Linked DNA regions of Homo sapiens: region 2 is linked to region 1. The links are contacts of gene promoters, found by promoter capture Hi-C in blood cells and fetal thymus (Javierre and others, 2016). All regions are on one chromosome and are shown on one strand. The core of a region is centred on a gene start or on the middle of the fragment in contact, and the rest is flanking DNA. Distances in the headings are between cores, read along the strand shown.

Evidence for each region. The method cuts DNA at HindIII sites, captures the fragments that hold promoters and counts their contacts. A CHiCAGO score of 5 or more calls a contact.
Region 2: the fragment with the promoter of ELF2 here is called in contact with a fragment that was not itself captured in region 1 in 1 of 17 cell types (fetal thymus); the score reaches 7.7 in fetal thymus.

The regions. Positions count from the first base shown.
Region 1 is chr4:140,524,558-140,531,477 of GRCh38, reverse strand. ELMOD2 (ELMO domain containing 2) reads right to left here. Exons shown (of 9, transcript NM_153702.4): 2 at 5,908-6,058; 3 at 3,984-4,012. The coding sequence starts at 6,049. Among named protein-coding and RNA genes, the nearest start is that of ELMOD2, 3.8 kb to the right of the region's middle. The HindIII fragment of the contact is 4,334 bases long and covers 1,754-6,087 here.
Region 2 is chr4:139,171,754-139,178,718 of GRCh38, reverse strand. It overlaps ELF2 (E74 like ETS transcription factor 2), which reads left to right and starts at 1,501. Exons shown (of 10, transcript NM_001331036.3): 1 at 1,501-1,752. LOC105379412 (a long non-coding RNA gene) reads right to left here and starts at 2,564. Exons shown (of 4, transcript XR_007058273.1): 1 at 2,371-2,564. RefSeq lists a cis regulatory region at 40-164, silencers at 531-910, 921-1,880 and an enhancer at 2,481-2,530. The HindIII fragment of the contact is 9,266 bases long and covers 1-6,965 here.

The DNA.
Region 1 (6,920 bases), core at 2,671-5,170:
GTAAGTACAGTGGAGCTTTGCTCCATTGTCATATATTGCATGGAAGCCAGACTTCTTAGCAGAATATTGAATTAGACTCCTCAAATTCGAATAAGTCATTAATTTTTATTTATAAATCCCAGTTTGTTAACCCTTAATATCTAATTGATAAATAGTCCTTAATCTAAAATATAAGCAAATAAGATTCAATTTTTAACAAAGAAAGAATGCACACTGTGGAACAGTGCACAGTCCAACATGATCATACTTCAAGATCACTGCTTTAGGGAATCACTCTGAATAGATTAAAATCACTTTTATTCACAGCAATCATTGGTAATGCTAAGTACTCTCAAGTACCAAAGAGGTTTTCATGAATATCAAATTTCTAAAATGATTATGGTATATATTGGCTTAATTATATTATCATTAATATTATTAGTAACCACTATTTGTTGAATACTTACTAAGTATTGGGCATTCTCTTAGACTGTTTTCATAGTAATATCTCTAATTTCAAAACAACTATGTGGGTATGAATAGCTTTTAGAATGAGAAAATAAGTAACTTGTACACAGTCAAACAACTGGTAATTGATAATATCAGGATTTGAACCCAGACTTTTTTATCGAATAAAAATGTAATTAGGTAAACCAAAATATCACAAAATGAGAAATAGATTTACCCTACAAAGTAAATGGAATATACAAATTAGGTGCAATACACACATAAATTATATTTTTAAATTGATAAGGCTACCTCTGTTTATTGGAAAGTTTGTCTTAGATTTAAAACCTTAAAAGAATAAATCGTTAAGTGATTTAATTTCAGTATTTACCCATTTGTTGACCACTCTCTTTGCAGGATGCCCTCCAAAGTACTATAGCAATTTCTATTTTTGAATAATGAAGTTCATAAGAATACAATTTTAATGTTTACTTTTCAAGTGAACTTTTTAATAGCAAGAAACAGAGGTAAAAAATGATGAACATTTTATTTTTCTTTAACTTGTAACCACTACTTTAAAATCCCCAAACACTCTAGTCTACATTTACCTCTTCCTTCTCTAAACTTCTACTTACAATTACATTCAATTCCAGTCTTCTTTTGTATATCTTTTGAATATCCCAAAGACCCTGGTTGAATACTGAACATGTGGTAGTCATTCAAATCCTTGGACGGATTTGACCAAGGCACTGGAGTTCTTAAATGTAGCATCTTATGTATTGTTCCACTTAAGCTTGGCATGATTTTACCACACATACAATCCCATTAATAAATTCTGTGACCAAAACTGTTGTTACAAATGCAGTTATAACAATTACACTGATAGATGTGATACTGAGTCCCCAGTTCCAGAACCTCTACAGTAAATTAGTAAATAAAAGAAACACTACACTCTATTCTGAAAAAAGTTAATTTTCATTTACTTATTATTCTTTATCCTCTTATTTTTCTCACTTATTCATTCATTCACTCAATAAATATTCAGAGCCTTATCACATTCCAGGCACTGTTTCAGGTACTAGAAAAACATCAGTGAACAAAACAACAACAAAAAATAAACAATGCCTTTTTCTTTTCAGGAATGGAAAAATAAGTAAGTAAAATATTTAGTACGCTAGTGATGGTCTGTGCTATGGTGAAACAATTAAGGAAAGGGGATCATAAAGAGAGACAAAGGTATACCCTTAGGTAGAGAATGGTCATGGAAAATCTCATAGAGAATGTCATAACTGAGGAAAAACCTGAAAATGAGGAAGTGAGCTAAGCTTTTAAGCGGGAGAAGATAATTCTACTTAAACAGAAGACCTGGTGCAAAGGTCATAAACCAGAAGCATGCTGATGTGTTTGGAAAATAACAGGCAGCATAGTGGTGATGACCAGTGAGCAAGGCAAGAACAGTAGTAGATAAAGTCAGAGAGTAATGAAGGGGACCAGATAAGAGTTTTAGTGGACAGCAATGGCAGTGTTGGACAACTTCCAGGCTGAGAGATGTCAAGGTTATTTGGAGGAACACACTACTGAAAAAATTGGTTGGAAGCTGGGATTGTGGGTATAACATAAAGAGCTCAGCTATGGTTTTACTCTCTTTACAATGTCGAGGCTTAAAGAAAACAGATTTCACAGAACAATTCATTCTAGAGGGTTCAGCACCCAAATAGTTCCAAACCAACTTGTTTAAGGTCAGTTTGAAAAACATACACAGTTTCCTATCGAAACAAAGTTAAAGCAGTTATGATCCACAACAGTCCCCAGACAGCATACTAATATGCTATTAGTGCCTCAAGACACTGCCCTCACCAGCAGGAACGGCTGCAGCAGTATCACCTGGGAACATGTTAGAAATGCAATCAGAACCAGACCAGAAATTCCGGGGATGGGGCCCAATAATCTGTGTTTTAATAGGCCTCCAGAAGATTTTGATTCTTCCTTAAGTTTAAGGACTACTCTTGTAATGGACCTGAAATATAACACCTCCCCAAGTGCATCTGCTAAAATTTGTAATATTGTTACTTTGGGAAACTGCATCCTATGTTTCAAATAAAGGAACTATACAAATAAATAAGGTATAAATAAATTTTGAGAACCAGCAACCTGTTAGCTTTCAGGACCTCCACATCCTCATTTTAAAAAATATATTAATCACTCTCTAACAATTCTGAACAAAGGAGTGTAACTCTGGACTCTTCCCCCAAATATTCACTTATATATATGAGTTATTCTTAAATAGACCATTCTTAAAGAGTACAACTAAATCATTAAAGTACCTATTTTAAAGGTTACTCTTCAGAACATAACAGATATGCTTGCAACTCTCAAGAAGGTCTATTTTATTTCTGGCACGATTCATAATACTAGACAGTAGCAAATCAACATTTTTGACCTTGAGCCACATTTTACATCATGATCAATAACAAACATTCATGTGGATGTCCAAAATACACACAGATGTACACAGAAATATTTAAAATAATTATAATAGTATAAAAAATTCCTAAAATATATTTAACCATATTATGACCAATGGTTTCTAAATATTTTCTGTTCTATTCCTATTATTGTTTAATACTGGTTGTGTTCTATTATGGGATTTCAAACAATGGTCTAGATGACCCGTATTCTATCCTTGCCACACCAAATAATCTACATGTAGACAAAATTGTGAACTACAATAGGGAAGTAACAGCATGTGGTAGACTGAATTATTGGTCCCAATTCTTCATTACCTTGTAATTGAATTATACAACCTACTCCCTACCATAGCCTTACGGTGGGCATATCATATTTCTCCACCCCTTGACTTGGGCTTGGCCATGTAACTTGTTTTAACTAACAGGTTGCTAACAGACATGACACAAAGAGACTTAAAATATATTTGTGTAGTTGGGCCTTTAGTTATCCATGGTGAAAACATTCACCAGATACCTGTTAACCCCCTACCTGAGTCCCAGATGAGACAAATGGAATAGACAGGAACTTGGCCCCAGCTTGAAGTAAGGCTTCTCCAGCTGACCCATAGACATATGAGCAAGAAACAACGTATCGTTTTATGCCCCTGAGATTTTATTATAGTTTGTTACACAGCAAAAGCTGACTAATACATAGCATGAATTATGACTTATTTTAGCTCAAAAGGTACACAACCCAGGGTTTTCTCTATCCTAAGTTGCTTTTCTCTCATATAATCTATCCTGAGGACACAGTCTAAAAGACGACTTTCCTCCTAAGGCCCTGCTTTCCTAAAAGCTATCAACTCTTAAAGCAAAATAAACAAATAAAACCTCAGGACAGGACAAATTATTCAAGTATTTTCTTTGAAATACACACGAAAAACACATATATAGAGAAATGTTTGAAAACAGAATATTACCTCTAAACGGGGAAAATTTCACTCAATGCTCACTATAGAAAACACTCTTCTAGCAGGGCACTTTTTTTTTTTTAAGAAAAAATATGTCCACGTTAAGTTTTCTAGAGTTACCACCTTTATGTTATCCTACCTTATTCTTGGAGTATGTCAAGGAATTTTCTGAAATGACAAAAAAAAAAAAAAGATGTTATCACTTAAATGCTGTTTGTCAATTACCCTATAATAAACAACTAGTAAAAATATCAAACCAGTAACAAACTAATAGTTCCAGGAGATATAATTTCTATATAACAGGAAGCATTTTAAAATTTAATCTTACAGTATAAACATATGATTTCAAAAAACTCAACCAAACACAAAATACCTATTCAAAGAGGTGACACCAACCTCATTACCTGGGGTCATATGTTTCTGTTTAGACCCCAAAGTGTCTACTAACCACTGCAAATTCACCCATAATTGTGTCACAGTAGCTCAGGTCCCAGAAACTCATCTTAAGACTACAATGAGAGTGCTCTCTACTGCATTTTCATTTGTTAGCCTGAGCCTTTAGATTTGAGGTGATAGCAACCAAATCGTACAACAAATAGGCAAGGACTTCAGATTATCTGGTCAACCCTTCTGTCACCAGACAAATAGCTTCTCCATTCCTGGTTTCTATATCAAGAATCACAGGAACATTTTTATTGGTCTATTTAAAAAATTTTCTGGCACATTTACGAATAATCTTTTCTCAGCAATTTGAAAAATTTAGGAAAAATGCTTTTGCCACAAACAAATGCCTTTATATATATTCTTCCCCCACACTATAAAACACCAACCCATACTGCCTGAAGAGATTTCTTATCAAGAGGTACTTTGTTCTTTTGAGTAGTCAAAAGGGCAAATTAAAAGAGCAGCAATAATTTAAGTCAACCATGAAGTTGTAAGAAAACTAGGAAAGTAATTAAACTTAATCAACCAGCTGCTATGAGGCAGCGTCTGTCTGTCATTCTTCCGATGTTGTCTTGGATACAGGTTCCATTTGCCAATACTCCACTCTCTTAACCTGACAGGGGTTGATTTCTCAGTCGAAGCACACTTGATCAACACAAAAAAAAAATCTGGCTAATTCACAATTTTCCGTTTAACACAGAGAGCATGAGCTAGAGCACTTCTCTGCTCTTCCTTACCCTGGCTGAAAAGAAGCGACTTCAAAACACAGTTCTTACTCATCTGTGTTCAAATTTTAGAGTAAAATTTTCAATGAAGCACTGAAAACTGATGTATTTTAGAAGGTAACAGAGCAACACTGTTCAACAGAAATATAACACAAGCCAAAATGTGACCCATTTGTGTACTTTAAAATTCTGTATAGCCACATTAAAGTAAAAAGAAACAGATAACATTTTAATATATTTTTAACCCAACATATCCAAAATATTACCATTTCAACATACAAAGAATATAAACAATTACTGGGACTTTTTACATTTTCTTATAAGTCTTTGAAATACAGTTTATATTTTACACTTACAGCACATCTCAATTTAGACTAGCCACATTTCAAATGCTCAATATAATGTGGCTATTGGCTATGGTATTGGACAGTGAGAATGAGTCTAATAATCTTTCCTAGAGACCACTGGATACATAATTACAGGCCTTTCATAAGTAACAGTAAGAAAGTAAAAGACTGATGAAGGATCCTAAGTATAAAAATGGATGTAGACTGAGGCACTCATTCTTCCCACCATGTGAGTGAAAATTTCAAAGGGATTATGTAAGTATAGAAATTTTTCACCAGAAAATAGGTTGCAACTATAATCTAAGGAATAACCGATAAACTTCAGGAGCCAGAGAATTCTTTCCACACATAAGCAATTAAATAACCACTTTTTCTATAAATTCATACAATTTTAGAGCTGAAGGAGTCAAAGCGGGACTTCAGAGCTTATGAAATTCAGTTTAAGTGACTTGTCAGGATACAAAAGAAATACATCTGTCACTGTGAGTCCTGAGAAAAACACTCCGTTAAACTTTTATTAGTACTTTTTCTTTTTGAATAACATTACCTATCCTGTGTGTCCTTTGTGCACCTACATAGGTATCAAATATTCGCTGCAATTCACACTTCCCAGTCATCTGTCGTAATAGCCATTTCATCCAAAATCGAAAAAAGTGCCCATAGAAGAACTCCCACAAAGAAATAAACATTTTTTTTTCCTGGAGGAGGGAAACATACAAGACAAGCTTAATGACCTTAAACTGAATTTTAAAATTTAAAAAGTTTATACAACTGATCAAATCTCAAATTATGTATCTATCATTTCATTGTGTCTGTTTTGACAGTTTAATTAGGCATTTAAAAACAATGGCAGGTGTAATATATACCGCTATTAATTGATGATCAAATGGCCAATTAATCACTTTTTCAAAACTAAAATTCAAACAATGTACTCAAACTATTCAATGGCTTGAAAGAGTAACAGAATGGTTTGCACTTTTTGCTAAATAATTGTATTTCATATCTTAGTTTCCTAACTTCCCATTCTTTGAGAACTGGGGCTCAACAGTTCAAGATCAAGAGGACTCCAACTAATCAACAATTAAAATATATACCAAAACATCAGAGTTGTTTTTATAGAATACACTCTTCTTATCCCATGTGGATAATTCGTTACAACTGTCCCAGTCAGGTGATGCCAGCAAATAAAAACACTACAAACTTAAGTATACAAGTTGAACACTGAGTATATAACACCTTAGCTCATTCTTGATTTTCCATTCAATAGGTCAAGGGCAGAAATACTAACAAGTTTTTGTTTTGCTAAGTACACACTCGATACAACTATATCTTATGCCATAAGAAAATTCTTCAGCTTCTAAATGAAAAAGTCAGGGAGATACTAGTGAGAGGGAGATACTTAAAAACAAAATTGCTCGTCTCCTTCCTGCCTTAAACATTCCCACAGACACGTCACCTCTGGACTAGGGCCTGAGGAGGGACTGTCGAAGTTCGAAGTACCCGCAGGTCAGTGCAGAAAGAGCGCATAGCACAGCTGGGTTGATCATTATCTTGAAAATC
Region 2 (6,965 bases), core at 252-2,751, 1.4 Mb after region 1:
GGTAACGCTGGAGCCCAGAAATCAGCTGGTGAATACCGCGCCAGGTGCCAGGTCCATCGCGGCGAGGCTGCAGGAGCCCTGGAGGGGAGCAAAAGGAGCCCCGCGCGCACCGGACAGGCTGTGCTCTTTGTTAAAGAAACAAATACAGAAAACGCCGCGGCGGGGAATGGTGGTGGTGAAGAAATAGACTGAGGCGTTTGTATGCATTAACTGTGCCTACAAAGCCCATTAAAGAGACGCTCCTACACAGGGCAACCCACGGCACCGTGTCATTGGCTTTTGTGCACTTGAAGGCGCGTGAGAGTGCCCCGCTCGAAGGCTCCCCTTTGTGTGAAAGTGTGGAAACCAGAAGCGTGCAGCCACTGCTGGGTTTTCGTTTTCGAATTCGCAGGCACTTGGGCCAAAATACTCCCACACCAGAACACTCTCTCATTCTCGCACCAACAACACTCAGACTTGAGTTACTTCTCCGTTGCGGACCGCGCAAGGAGCGACAATGGCTAGGTGCGAGTGCCCGCAGCTCCCCGGGCAGCTCCAAGGGGCCGCCCGCCGCGCTCCGCAGCTGCGCGCTGGGCCCAGCCACCCGACAGCCAGCAAACGCCGGCACCAACCGCCGCGCGGCCGGGCTGTTGGGCGGGTGGTAATTTCTGGGAATGGGGCGGGGTCGCGGGTGTACTACGCCCGGCTTTTGCTAGCGGGGAGGAGGAGCTGGCGGCGCCGAGGGGCGCGAGGCTGGCGGGGCGGTGCGCCACGTGCGTCACCGGCCGGGGCGGGGCCGGCGTCGCGCTCCTGCCCGAACCCCCACCTTTCACTAAGCCAAGGCTGAGGAGTGGGAACTGGAAAGACCGGGCTAGGAGTTTTTGCAAAACCTCGCCCCCCTGTAACTGTCAGACTGCCCGACTGTGGGGCCGTCTCCGGAGAAGGGCGAGAGTCCTGAGTTGGGGATGCGGTGACGGCGGGGCCTGCGGGGGCCCTGAGTGGCGAGGGTGTGTGCGTGCGGTCCCGGCCGGCGGGGGAAAGCCGGCGGGCGCTGCAGGTGCACGCGCGGCCCCATCGGCCTCACACGCCTGCCCCGTGCGGCAGAGCCCCCTGCACCAATCCGGGGCTGGAGTGGAGAGCGAGATCGGGGAGCCCTGGGCAAGGAGCCGGACAAGTGACGAGCGTCTTTACCTGGGAAGGCGGGTTTGGGAGAAGTTGGGCGAGGAGAAGAGGGCGGGATTCAAGACAGCAAAAGAAGCAGGTTCGGCGGGCTGGTGGGGGCCCGAGGGCGGCGGGGCCCCGCGGGGTATAAATAGCCGGCCCGCGTTTGACAGGCGCTGCGGTGACTGGCGGTGCCGCCCCCGCCCCCCCGCCGCGTGGGGAGGGGAGGAGCACTCTGAGCTGGCGGGGAGGGGGAGGCGGACTCCAGTGTCCTGGTGGAGGCGGCAGGAGGCCGAGGGGGAGGAGCCGAGGCGGGGGGTGGAGGGAGGGGGCCGGGAGCGGAGCGGGGCGGGGGCAACCATTGCTCCCAGCGCCAAGCTCTGTGTCGCCGCCGTCGCCTAGGCGGTTGGGGGTCGGTGGGGCGGCGCGGGCGGGGGTCGCTGCGCGGGGCGGCGAGCCTCTGTTTTGTCTCCTTCTCTCCCTGTGGAGCGGCTCGGGCTGCTGGGGAGGCCCCGGCTCCCTCCGGACGCTCGGCCAACGGCGGCGGCTAGTCCGCGGCCCTGCTGAGAGGGAAAAGGACGCCGCGGTCTTCCCAGGCGTCGCGGAGAGCAGGTAAGAGCGCGGGCAGCCGAGGCTGGTGAGAGGGAGCGCGAAGGGCGCGGCGATAAAGCCTGGCTGTCCCGACTGCCGCCGCCTCCCTCCGCGCCCCCGCCCCGCGCTTGTGTTGTTTGCTTCGGGGTTTGCGGAGGGGTTTTCCGGCGGCTGCGGCGGTGACACCGGCCGGGGGCTGGGGGAAGGGGGCTGAGTGTCCCCAGGCAACGGTCGCGGAGCGGGACTTGGAGAAAGGGGAAGGCGCGCTGCGCGCCTGCCCGCGGGGAGCGCGGGGCGCGGGGCAGGGCTGAGGGAAGAGGTTACAGACCCCGGCGGGGGGGATGGGCCGAGCGCAGCTGGTCTCTCCGTGTTTACATCTCTGCGCGAGTCACCTCTGCCGAGAAGCGGACTGAACTGACCCGCCTCATCCCGCGGGGAGGCCAGGGCGGGGGTCCGGCTCCGGAGGAAGCGCGTCCTGGGAGGGTTTGTGTAGGGCGGGAGTCTGCGGCCGGCGCCGGGGCTGGGCGGCGAGCTCGGGGCGGGACCTGGGAGGCTCCGGCCGCTCTGGGTGGCGGGCAGGCGGGGGGGGGCGCTGGACACCAGTTTCCTTCCCTGTCGTGCCTTATCGCCGCCGCTTACCTTTCCTTCCCGGCGCTGCTAGCTTGCACGACAGGTTGTACTCGGCAGTTCTTTTATTCTCGCTCTCCACGCCGGCACCGTGCTGCCATCTCCCCCTATTCCCCGGGAGGTAGGGAGGCTTTGCTCGGATCGGAATCTGTTTCTTAAGCAAAACAAAAACGGGCTCGTAACAGGCACGTCCAGTGACCGCCTTCTGGATCCTCGCGAAGCTGGTCCTCAGGGACCGCGCGACGGGATGGTCTAGGGGCGCGGAAGGAGGACAGGGAGGGCTCTGCCAGGGCTGGATGCTGACTCTACCCCAGGAGCTTTGTGATCAGGGTAGCCGAGCCCTCTCTTCTGCTCCATTTGGGCATTTTTATTCCATGTCCATAAAGGACTCAAAAAATATTCCGTGACACCAAGAATAATCCAGATCGCACAGTTTCTAATCTTTTTCCCTCTGCCAGCATCCTGGATGGACTCTTTCTAGGAGGCAGATTCGCTGCAGAATAGCCTTTAAGTTTAGTACTTCATTAAATGAGGAAGAGGGGGACACGTCATTGTAAAACTGTTAAAAATTCCCCCCTTTCTTGTGTTCATGAACATTTACTTCAGCTTAATGGTTTAAATTGTAATCCGGTGATGAGAGAATAGTAATCGTGTGTTTGATAATCAGATTTGTTTTCCTTTTTATCTGTGATTCTCTATCCTGAAGTAAATTATGCACTTTCTTTGGTGCCAGAATCACGGAAGGATGTATGCTTTACTAAGAAAGGATTGGATATTTGTGTTTCAGAGTTTCTTCAAAAGGTAGAATGACTTATATAGGACTGGAAACCATTAAATTACATTTAAGGGAATTTAGGAATAATAAAACTTTTTATAGAGCATTACAGTTTACAGAGTACATTCATGTAAATATTATTGAGACGATATCTAGTAGTTAAACACATGAAATAGAAAATTGGAATATCCTGGGCATTTGAAGTTTGAATATTTATGTCAACCTATTTTTAAGTTTAGTGATTTAACTCATTGGATTTATCATTGCCTTTCATTTCAGACATAAATACTCATTTACAAAATAGTCAGCTTGAGTATGGTTGGAAAGAATTTGTAACTTTGGGATTTTTCTGTCCTAAGTAAACAGATTGGTACCTGTGGCCTGTAGGGTCTGCTAATGTTAGTGGCTTTACCTGCTCATGTTGTATACCATTTTTGGAGGAGTAACAGCTTCACGATGATATAATTCACATACTAGTCAGTTCAGTTTAAAGTGTACAGTTTGGTGGGTTTATTAATTTTTTAAAAAATTACTCCATTTTGCAGGTGAACAATTCAGTGGTTTTTACTACAATTGTCCATCGGTATCTGTTGGGGATTTGTTCTAGGGCCTTCCTCAGACACCAGAATCTATGGATGCTCAGGTCCCTAAAATAAAATGGCATAGTTGCTGGGTGCAGTGGCTTGTGCCTGTAATCCCAGTTATTCAGGAGGCTGAGGTGGGAGGATCTCTTGAGGCCAGAGTTTGGACACCAACCTGGGTGACAGAGCAAAATCCTGTCTCCTAGGAAAAATGAATAAAACTGACATAGTATTTGCATATAAACTCTGCATATTCTCTTGTATGCTTTAAATCATCTCCACATCACTCATACTACCTAATACAATGTGGATGCTATGTAAATAGTTGTTATACTGTGTATTGTTTAGGGAATAATGACCAGAAAAAAGTCTGTACATGTTCATTTACAGACATAATTTTTTTTTGAGTAGTTTCTGTACCTCATTGATTGAATCCATGTATTCAGAACTCATGGATATGGAGGGCCGACTGTATATTCAGAGTTGTGCAGCCATCACTATACTCAATTTTACAGCATTTTAATCATCCCCCAAAAGAGCCCCATATCCATTAACAGTCGCTTTTCATTTTCCCTCAGCACTCCCAGTCCTATGCAACCACTGATCGACTTTCTATCATTATAGATTAGACTGTTGTGGACATTTTATGTAAATGAAACCATAAATGCGGTCTTTTGTGACTGGCTTCTTTCGTTTAGCATAATGCTTTCAAAGTATATCCATGTTGTAATATGTGTCAGTACTTCATTTCTTTTTTTTTTAAAATCTATTTTCTTTCTTTCTTTTTTTTTTTTTTTTAAGATGGAGTCTCGCTCTGTCGCCTAGGCTGGAGTGCAGTGGTGTGATCTGGCTCACTGCAACCTCTGCCACCCGGTTCAAGCGATTCTCCTGCCACAGGCGCATGCCACAACACCTGGCTAATTTTTTTTTTTTTTTTGTATTTTTAGTAGAGATGGGGTTTCACCGTGTTAGCCAGGATGGTCTCGATCTCCTGACCTCGTGATCCGCCCGCCTTGGCCTCCCAAAGTGCTGGGATTACAGGGGTGAGCCACCGCGTCCGGCTAATCTATTTTCTTTTTTATAGAGATGGGGTTTCACCATATTACCCAGGGTAGTCTTGAACTCCTGGGCTTGAGCAATCCTCTCTCTTTGGCCTCTCAAAGTGCTGGGATTTCAGGCTTGAGCCACTGCACCTGATCCTTTTTAATTAAAAAAATTTTTTATAGTCTTTTTTTTTTTTTTTTTTTGAGACGGAGTCTCGCTGTGTTGCCCAGGCTGGAGTGCAGTGGCACGATCTCAGCTCATTGCAACCTCCGCCTCTCGGGTTCAAGCGATTCTCTTGCCTCAGCCTCCCAAGTAGCTGGGACTACGGGCGCGTGCCACCACGCCCGGCTAATTTTTTGTATTTTTAGTAGAGATGGGATTTCACTGTGTTAGCCAGGATGGTCTTGATCTCCTGACCTCATGATCCGCCTGCCTCGGCCTCCCAAAGTGCTGGGATTACAGGTGTGAGCCACTGCACCCACCCTGTAATCATTTTTTTTATTGATGAGTAATATTCTATTTATGGACATATTACATTTTATTTATCTGTGCATCAGTTGATGGACATTTAAGTTTCTATTTTTTTGGGCTATTATGCTGCTATGAATATTCATGTTTTTGTGTAGATGTGTTGTCATTTCTTTGGGTATGTACACTTTTTAATAAATTAGCTTTTGACTTACCTGATACCAAAAAAATTATCCATTTTGAGTATATAATTCAATAATTTTTAGTAAATATATAGATCGTGAAACTATCTATCACCTTGAGCTAGTTTTCGAACATTTCCATTGCCTCCAAAATTCCCTCCAGCCTGTTTGCAGTTAACCCTTATTCCCACCCCCAGCCTCAGGCAATCACTGATTGGTTTTGTCTTAATCCATTTGCTTTTACTGGATATTTTGTATAAGTGGAATTGTACAATATGTAGTCTTTTGTATCTGGCTTCTTTCACTTAGCATAATGTTTTTGGGATTCATTCATATTGTAGCGTTTATCAGTTTTTTGTCCCTTTTTACTTTGGAATAGTATTTCTTTGTATAGGTATATGATAGCCCCCCCCCCCCCCCCCCCCCCCGTTATCTGTGTGGGATACATTCCAAGACCCCCAGTGGATGCCTGAAATCTCAGGTAGTATTGAACCATATATTATTTTTTTCTGTATCTGTATACCTAGGATAAAGTTTAACTTGTTAATCAGACATAATAAGAGATTAAAAACAATACAATAGAATAGTTACAACAATATGCTATTCACAATTTCATAGAAGATTTCTTACTGTAGGTGTTAGCAAACAGCATAAAGTTTTTTTCTTGTTAAATTGAGAACTTTCACTTTTTCACTTAAAATAAGTATTTTACAGCTTCTTTTTGGCATATCCAGTTGTCATCCTCATTACTCTTGAGTGTTTGAGCCATTGTTAAGTAAAATAAGGGTTACTAGCACTAAGATACTAGTTGATCTGATAGCTGAGATGGCCACTAAGTGACTAATGAGCAGGTAGTGTAGACAGCGTGAATATGGTGGATAAAGGGATGATTCATGGCCGAGGCAGAGGGGCATGGTATGAGGTTTCATCATGCTGCTCAGAATGGCACTCAATTTAAAACGTAGATTATTTCTGAAATTTTCCATTTATCATTTTCAGACCATGTTTGACTGTGGGTAACTGAAACTGCAAAGTAAAGCTGTAGGTAAGGGGAGATTACTGTAACACACTTTAGCTGTTGACCAGTATATATAGGTGTTTCGATTATTTCCAGTTGTTGACTCTTTAAATAATACTCAAACATTTGAGTACAAGTCTTTATGTGGACATATGGTTTTGTTTCTCTTGGTTAGCTATCTAGGAGTAGAATTACAGCATCATACGTTTAGCTTTTTAGGACACTGCCAAACTGTTTTCCCAAAGTGGCCATAACGTCTTATATTGCTAACAGCAATGTTTGAGAGTTCTAGTTTTCTTCACATCTTTGCCAACACTTATTATTGTATTTCTTTTTTAATTATAGCTGTTCTAATGGATATGAATTTGTTTGTTTTTGAGTCACTCTGTCGCCCAGGCTGGAGTGCAGTAGTGCAATCTCAGCTCACTGCAACCTCTCTCTCCTGGGTTCAAGCAATTCTTCTGCCTCAGCCTCCCGAGTAGCTGGGATTACAGCCGAGCACAACTATGCCCAGCTGATTTTTTGTCTTTTTAGTGGAG